2 separate regions of the Homo sapiens genome follow, and region 2 is linked to region 1. Evidence: promoter capture Hi-C in 16 types of primary human blood cells and fetal thymus (Javierre and others, 2016). All regions are on one chromosome and are shown on one strand. The core of a region is centred on a gene start or on the middle of the fragment in contact, and the rest is flanking DNA. Distances in the headings are between cores, read along the strand shown. Region 1 holds the start of CD52 (CD52 molecule). Region 2 holds the start of EXTL1 (exostosin like glycosyltransferase 1).

What was found. Contacts are between HindIII fragments. The CHiCAGO score rates a contact against its expected background, and 5 or more counts as called.
Region 2: a contact is called between a fragment that was not itself captured here and the fragment with the promoter of CD52 in region 1, in 1 of 17 cell types (endothelial precursors). The highest score is 6.4, in endothelial precursors.

What each region holds. Positions count from the first base shown.
Region 1 is chr1:26,315,903-26,319,996 of GRCh38, reverse strand. It overlaps CD52 (CD52 molecule), which reads right to left and starts at 2,039. Exons shown (of 2, transcript NM_001803.3): 1 at 1,926-2,039. The coding sequence starts at 1,979. It also overlaps a transcript of UBXN11 not described here. RefSeq lists enhancers at 1,033-1,132, 274-1,259, 1,633-1,782, 1,913-1,982 and a silencer at 2,057-2,249. The HindIII fragment of the contact is 1,957 bases long and covers 605-2,561 here.
Region 2 is chr1:26,020,354-26,024,447 of GRCh38, reverse strand. EXTL1 (exostosin like glycosyltransferase 1) reads right to left here and starts at 2,673. Exons shown (of 11, transcript NM_004455.3): 1 at 1,023-2,673. The coding sequence starts at 1,801. The HindIII fragment of the contact is 4,527 bases long and covers 1-3,926 here.

The DNA.
Region 1 (4,094 bases), core at 790-3,289:
AGGCACGTGCCACCACGCCCGGCTAATTTTTCTATTTTTAGTAGAGACGGGGTTTCACCATGTTGGTCAGGCTGGTCTCGAACTCCTGACCTGGTGATCCACCCGCCTCGGCCTCCCAAAGTACTGGGATTACAGGTGTGAGCCATCGTACCCAGCCCTCAGGGGACTTTTGAATAGCGTGTTTGTTATTTAAAGATGCAGTCCCCTTTCTACCCTCCCCGCCCTCCATCCGCCCACCTCCATAAAACAGTCCTCAGTTCTGCCCCATGTGACCACTACTTCTTCCACAAGGTCCTGTCAGGATGTTTGACTGCTTCCTGCTTTGACACAGGCAGGGACAGAGGTGATCACTGCCCCTGTCCACCCCCTTTCACAGAAACTTTCTGTTTTTTTGAGATAGAGTTTCGCTCTTTTGCCCAGGCTGGAGTGAAGTGGCATGATCTCGGGTCACTGCAACCTCCACCCCTCAACCTCCCGAGTAGCTGGGATTATAGGCAGCCGCTATCACGCCCAGCTAATTTTTTTTTTTTTTCCGAGACAGAGTCTTGCTCTGTCGCCCGCCCAGGCTGGAGTGCAGTGGCGTGATCTCGGCTCACTGCAAGCTTCACCCCCAGGTTCACGCCATTCTCCTGCCTCAGCCTCCCGAGTAGCTGGGACTACAGGCGCCCGCCACCACGCCACGCCCGGCTAATTTCTTTTTGTATTTATGGTAGAGACGAGGTTTCAATGTGTTAGCCAGGATGGTCTCGATCTCCTGACCTCATGATCCACCCGCCTCAGCCTCCCAAAGTGCTGGGATTACAGACGCGAGCCAGCGCGCCCGGCTCGCCCAGCTAATTTTTGTATTTTTAGTAGAGACGGGATTTTGTCATGTTGGCCAGGCTGGTCTTGAACTCCTGACCTCAGGTGATCCGCCTGCCTCGGCCTCCCAAAGTGCTGGGATTATAGGCGTGAGCCACCGTGCCCGGTCACAGAACCTTTCTTTTCACCTTTCCCCAGCGACCAGCCCTTCTGGCATAGAGGGAGACAGGGGAGCCCTGGCCCTTGACCTTCCTAGCCTGGCAAAGGGCTTAGCTTCCCTGAGCCTCAGTTTCATCTTCTGAGTGGGGAGAAGTTCATCACAGTTGTGAAGGTCACATGAGCCAGGGCTGAGTGAGAAAGCACTTGGCAAAGCGTGGGTGGCTGGATGTGGGGTGGGGAAGTGGCCAGATGGTGATCGAGCTGTCCTTAATGCTTGATGGAGCTGCAACTAGAACTGTTCTTGATGGAGATTAAGCTGGTTTTGATGGTGATCAAGCTGTTCTTGATCAAGAACTTGATGGCTCCGGTCTGCTGTACTGACTCCCCTCTGGGCACCTGGGATGCTACCAAAGCTGCCTCCTGGAATAGCAGTCGCTTTTGAGACTCCAGTTGTTTCTGAAATGGGAGAGTCCTGTCTTCTTTGCATTCCTGAACATCCAGGCTTCTCTCTGGCAGGGGAGTGGGGGTTAGAGTGTCCCCTGTCACCTCCATAACCACAGCAGGCTCCACTTGGACATCTCCTGGCCTCTCCCCAAAGGACCATCTCCCCAGACTCCCTGTGGGCCGATGCCTTCCTCACTCAGGGTTGTCTTCCCAAGTCTCTTAGTTCTCTATTATTCCACAACACCCCTTGGGTGCCCCAACGCGCCTAGCACCCTGTAAGTGCTCCCCAGCTGTGGATACAGGTTTCTCTCAGGGCAGCCCGCAAGCAGTGCAGCCCCAGCCAGAAGAGCTGGAAGGCTGGGCGGCCAGGCCCGCTGTGTCCCCAGTTTTCCTGTTGGAGTCCATCTGCTGTGCTCTCAGGAGAGAAGGCTGGGTCTCTGGGAGCTCACATCCTGTATGCCCTCCCTCCATGCCAAGCAACTTTGGGGAGTCCTGGCAGTGGTGCCAGGCGTTGCTCTTACCTGTACCATAACCAGGAGGCTGATGGTGAGTAGGAGGAAGAGGAAGCGCTTCATTTTGGTAGGATCTTCGTGGCTGTCTTGGTAGCAGCTTTTTAGGTGATCTCAGGGCTGTCTGGAGGCTTCTTTTGGTTTAGCTGCTTTTGAACCAGGAGGCAGAGGAGGCGGGGTGAGGTAGGGAGAGGAAGGAGGGCTTACAAGGTGGAGGAGGGGTGTGGCTTCCTTTCTGCAGATCTGGGGGTGGATAATACCAGGCTCTAGGTTCTAAGGCCCTGGCTGGGGGAGCAGGCTAGATCGTACAAGATAGGAGAGAGGTCAATCCAGAGGCAACGGTGGGAGTAAGTAGGGCCCAAGGCCTGGAATCATGCATCCTGCAGGCTGAATCCTGGTTTAATCACTGACCAGCTCTGAGACCCTGGGCCAGAAACTCTACCTCTCTGACCCTTTAACAAAAGAACTGCCGGATTACATGTAATAATAACCAATTTAAAAAGAGCCAGAACATAGCAGATATTCCGTAAATGAGTTTGTTGTTTAAAGAAGATTGGGGCAGGGTATAGGAGCTGAAGGAGAAGGGCTGGGATAGATTTATGTTTCAAGGGAAGGTTGTAGATGGGCTGCAGGTTCTGAATGAAAGCTTGGGAAATGTTTAGATTGTGGAAGGGTTGGTGGATTTCTGTGAAGGTGCTGGAGGTGAGGAATCGGGAAGCCTGGTTTCAGTTGGGCTTTCCCTCTCTAGGCCTCAGTTCCTCATTTCAAGGAACTGGGAAGACTGAAATAGATTATTTCTGAAGTTTGTTAAAACCTAGTGTTTTGTTTTGTTGTTGTTGGTTTTTTTGTTTTTTTTTTTAAACAGAGTTTTGCTCTGTGCACTGGCATGATCTCGGCTTACTGCAACCTCCACCTCCTGGGTTCAAGCAATTATCCTGCCTTGGCCTCCCGCATAGCTGGGACTACAGGTGTGTGCCACCATGCCTGGCTAATTTTTTGTATTTTTTTTTTTTTTTTAGCGGAGACTGGGTTTCACCATGTTGGCTAGGCTAGTCTCGAATGCCTGATCTCAAGTGATCCGCCTGCCTCGGCCTCCCAAAGTGCTGGGATTACAGGCATGAGCCACCGCGCCCAGCCAAGACCTAGAATTTTGTGATTTTGGTAGAGAAAGTAGCAAGCAGATGGGTTGTTTGTATTAGCTGAGGATGAATGGGAGGGGAGCGAGGGAAGGGACAAGTGGGTGACTAAGCTACAGTGGAAGGGGACTGGGGTGAGAGAGTGGCTGTGAGGGCCCAGGGAGGGGTGGGGGGATGAGAGGAATCCCACAGCTGCCTGGATAGTGCTCCATGCTTTATGCATTCCCTCACTTGATACCCTCTGTGGTGCCCTGCAGCAGGTGTTATGTTTATCCCCATTTGACTGGTGAAAAAACTGAGGCTTAGATGTTAAGTGACTTGCTAAGGTCGTAAATGGTGGAGCCAGTCTCATTTGACCTTGAATCCAGGTCTGTCTGAAGCCACAGCCATGTATGTAACCTCTGGGGCTGCCCTAGAATTCATCCATTAAGTCTTGATTCCCTGCCACTCCCTCCCCCTCCCCTACACAAACTCCCCCCAGGCCCCAGGAGTTGGTCACCACAACCCCAGCTCTGGCCCACTCTCCCTTCACACTCTCCCTTCCTTAGTCTACTTTAGGCCTCATTTACATGCTAGGTAGTAAAGGGAAAACTCCCCTCACTTCTCTTCTATTGTTTTGGGCCTTGTGTTGCAAGCCCAGGGGAGATCTGGCTGAGGCTGAGTCCAAAGAAAAAAACAGAGGCTGGGCATAGGGGCTACGCCTGTAATCCTAGCAGTTTGGGAGGCTGAGGCGGGCAGATAACTTGAGCACAGGAGTTTGAGACCACCCGGGCAACATAGGAAGGCCCCATCTCTCAAAAAAAAAAAAAAAAAAAAAAAAAATTAGCCGGGCATAGTGGCACAAACCTATAGTCTCAGCTACTTGGGGGCTGACGCAGGAGGATTGCTTGCACCTGGGAGGCCCAGGCTGCAATGAGCCATGATTGTGGCACTGCACTCCAGCCAGGGTGACAGAGCAAGACCCTGTCTCAAAAAAAAAAAAAAAAAGGCCAGGAAACAGTGGCTCACGCCTGTAATCCCAGCATTTTGGGAGGCCGAGGTGGGT
Region 2 (4,094 bases), core at 414-2,913, 300 kb after region 1:
AGTTGATGTTGTTGGAGCAGAGAATAGGGAGAGAGACCTGAGGGAGGAGCAAAAGGAGGATACCAGAGTGACAGTTCCCGACTCAGGTAGGCCCTGGGAGATGGTGGGATACAGAAGGAACCCTCTGCCACCGGGGCCCTGGACAACCTCAGAGGGACTCCCATTCTTGCCTGCCCAGCTAGCCTTTAGAGGCTGCTGGCCTGCTGGGGACACAGAGGGTTAGAGTGCTTAGGGGATAACTATCACCTGAGGCGCATCACCCCCAACTAGCCCAGGCGGAAAGAGTTTCTGTACAAGCTCACCACATCCCACAGGCCCCCAGTCCCTTATATATGTCAAGGGCCTCTCACTGGCAGGAAATTCTTTAGATCTGACCTGCGTCATATTTGCTATAACCAAAGGCTGTTTCTTTGAGAGGTTAATCCCCAAAATTAGACACGGGAGCAGCTTCCAGCTGTGACTGTGAGGCCCTTCTGAGGCATTTGATGAGGTTGATCATAAACTTTTACTTAAAACTCAGAATTCTCATACTGAAGGCTTTGGAGATAGGCAATTCTGGATCAAAATACTGGCTCTTTCCGGCTGGGTGGCCTGAGAAAAATTACTTAACCTGTCTGAGCTTTCGTGCCTGGTACACAAACACTTAAATGCTAACAACTAGCATATTTTATTATAATCATTATTTATATAAGTGCTTAGCACAGAGTAAGCACTATACAACTGTATGTGGGGAAAAAAAATATTAGGGTAGGAGGTTTGGAATGAGTCGTGTTTTATGTTTTGAAAGATCCCCAGGGGAGAATTCCAAAACCTACCTTAGACAACCCTTGCTTCAAGTCCCCATCTTAATGGAAGTGCTCTCTGCCATCTAACCTGGCTCCCTCCTGCTGCTGCAGCTGAGGCCTAAGTCTACCAGGACTACCTGGTTCTCCCATCTCAGTCCTGCCTTCTACCCTCGTTTTTGGGCTTGCGTCTATTCCAGCCCCCTCCCATCCAGCCCCCAAGGCAAAAGGTTCACTTACTGCCCAGGTCCAGGGTCTTGCTCACAGCGCCCATCCCAGGGGCAGGCAGAGGAGCCAGTGTCTGCTGTGCGCCACCCACCCCTCTCCTCTTCCAGGGCTAGCAGGGCTACCCCGGGCTGGGGGCTGTGTTGCCGCAGCTGGCCAGGAGCCCCACCTCGCAACGGGTGGGCTTCAGGGAGAAAAGGGAGGGCCACATCAAAGCCGGGCCGGAAGGAGTCCACCGTGGGGCTGGCCTCAGCCACCATAGCCTGTCCCAGCTGGAAGGTCCTGGGGCAGGGAGCCGGGTGGAGACGGAGGACCAGATGGTTCCTGCCCCTGTTCCATTGCAGAGGCATTGAGCTGCACTCTCCAGTCTGGGCGTCCAGGCTGAGGAGGAGGAGGAGGCAGGCCCCAGCAGGGCTGAATGTGTAGAAGCGAGAGCCCTCAATGGAAGCCAGGATCCTGCGATGAGTCTCAGAGATGGTTCCAACCGCTGGGTACACGAATACCTTAAGGCCATCGCCCCTGCACTTTGAGGTATCAAAGCAAGATTCCCAGTTGCAGCTGCCACCATGAGGGGCTTGAGGAGGTGAAACGGCATCTTCTGGGAGCTCTCCAGGCTGGGAGAAGCTCTGCAGGAGCTCTGCATCCAGCCAGCGGGGCCAGCCTTGGGAAGCCCCGGGCCGAGGTCTGGGAGGCAATGCCAGGCGGAGAAGGGAGAAGCCTCCCAGCAGGACAAGCAGGAGCCAGGAGGCTGACAGTGCCAGCCACAGGGACTTTCTTCTCCTCCACGACTGCATGTGGCCACCCACAGTCAGGGCTAGGGAAGCTGGGAGGCCTCTGCCAGCAAGCAGGAAGAGCAGGGCCTGGGGCGGGAGACCAGAGCTGGGACCGACCTGCTAGTCCTGTGCTGTCATTGTACAGATGGGAAGACTGAGGCCCATCGAGACCAGGCCGCCTGTCTAAGGTCAGATAGTGAGTCACCAGCCAGGCAGGAGGAGGCCAGGTGGGACCCAGCTTGCTGGCCTGGCCCCCCTGCTCTCAGGACTCTGCCTTCTCGGCCTTTGGACAACCAAGCCAGCCTTTTCCCTCCCAGCAGGGACCCCTGCCCCTGGGCACTGCTCTGGCTGACGCAACCCCTGTCCAGAATGCAGGGCCGTGTCCCCCTGCCCTCCTGGCTGCACCCCTTGACCTTGCCCTCAACTGAGAGGAGGGCTGTCTGCCAGGCCATGGGGACCAGTCAGAGCTCCCACAGGAGGCGGCTTGGCCAGGGACAGGCTGGAGGGAGCTGGGCTGGTCTTCCCACTCCTCCCCTTGCCTGAGCAGCCCTGGCTGCCCCTGTGCCCGCTGGCAGACGCTTCTGGGCTGTGGCCCCTGTGGCTGGAGCTAAAATTAGACCCTGCATCCCATGTGGATCATCGGCGTCAGCTGAGGTCACAGCCTGGGTGCAGCCGGTGTCCCCCTGCCTTGGAGGGCCAGGAGGGCTCGGGGTCCTGATCCTTATCCACTCTGCCGCTGCACCAGCTCAGGAAGTGCAGCCCCTCTTCCCCGCAGCCCAGCAGCTGCCTTGCACCATCTGGCTTGGAGCTATCACAGTGCAGAGGCCAGGGCCGCTGTGCCAAGCCCCCCAAACCCTATGGTATCTCCTCCCATCCCTCTCCAGTCGGCAACTGGCCCATCCTGATCTCTTTCCTTAGCAGCAGCCTGGCTCCTCCCCTCCCAGCCCTGATTCGCTCCTGGCTGGGAGGCAGGGTCTCCATTTAACCCCTTCCAAACCAGTTTCCTCAATTGCTAATCCAACCAGCAAGTACTGCAACTCACAGCTGGCCATGAGTTATCACAGCCTCTGTCTCTCAGTCCTCCAGCCACCCTCCAAGGCAGAGATTTACCTGTCATTTCTTACAGATGAGGAAAGCTCAGAGAGGGGATGAACTCTTCCTAAGGTGACCCAGCTAAGAAGTGGCAGGGTGGGGATTTCAATCCTGAGCTCCTGGTCGTTGGTCACCCCAGCTGTGGGCCCTGTGGCTGGAGAAAAACTAGACCCTGCACCTGCTGTGGGCCATCAGAGTCAGTGGAGGTCAGAGCCTGAGTGTGAGGAATCTCTGAATCGGCACATGAGAAGGTCAACAGGTGAGACAAGTGAGGAGTTAAGGGGCGGGGGTGGAGGAATTGGGTAAGGTGCCCCCAACTGTCCCCAGGATTGGTCTCTCCTCCTTCAGCAGCCCCACCCCCAATCTCCTCCAATTCCCAGCCTTTTGCTCCAGTCCTTATGGAAAGTTCTTCCTGCACTTGACTCTTCCATAGTCCAGGCCCCATGGAGGGATTTCCCCGGTCAGTGCCCTGTGAGGGGAGTCAGGAGTGGGTGATGTCAGCCACTGAGGAATCTCTGGGGTGACGGGGGAGACACACTCTGGCCATGAGGAGTTCTGGGCTGATGAGGGAAGGCACAGGGAGTGGACAGACTTGAGTGGGTTCTGCCTCTTCCCCTGACTGCCTCGGGGGTGTTGGGCCTCTGTCCCCTTATCTCTGGGATGGGCATAATGTCAGCCAGGAATGGGTTGCCAGGTTGACGCAGGCCTGTCCCCTGAGGTCCCTCAACAAGTGGTGGCCTCCTTTCCCCTGCGTGCCTCCCCTTGATCTTGGAGGGCTGCTGATCAGACCAGGGAGCCACCGTGGGATGTTTTGCCCTCAGTGAGCAGCCAGTGTGAGAGTCCTAAAAATGGCCCACAAAGGGGACACTTGCCTCTTGGCACTAATGGCTCAGCCACTCGGTGATGAACTGCAGTTCCTGCATAACTCAGTCCTCCCACACTGAGAGGCATCCACAAAGGCCACTGGCTGCTTCGCACGCCCCCCCTTTCACTGTGCCCAGCCAACTCCTCATCCTGCAGGAGTCAGCTGAAAGCTCCCTCCCCACAAGAAGCTTCTCCAATGCTCCGCAGGCTGGGTTAGAGCCCCCGTCTAGGTCCTCATGTCATTCCTTCATCCCTCTATCCCCATACACAGTCATCCATTCATCTAACAAACACTTATGAGTGTTGAATATGGGCCAGGTTCTGAGCTAGGCCAGGAACACAACCCTGAGTAAGAGTA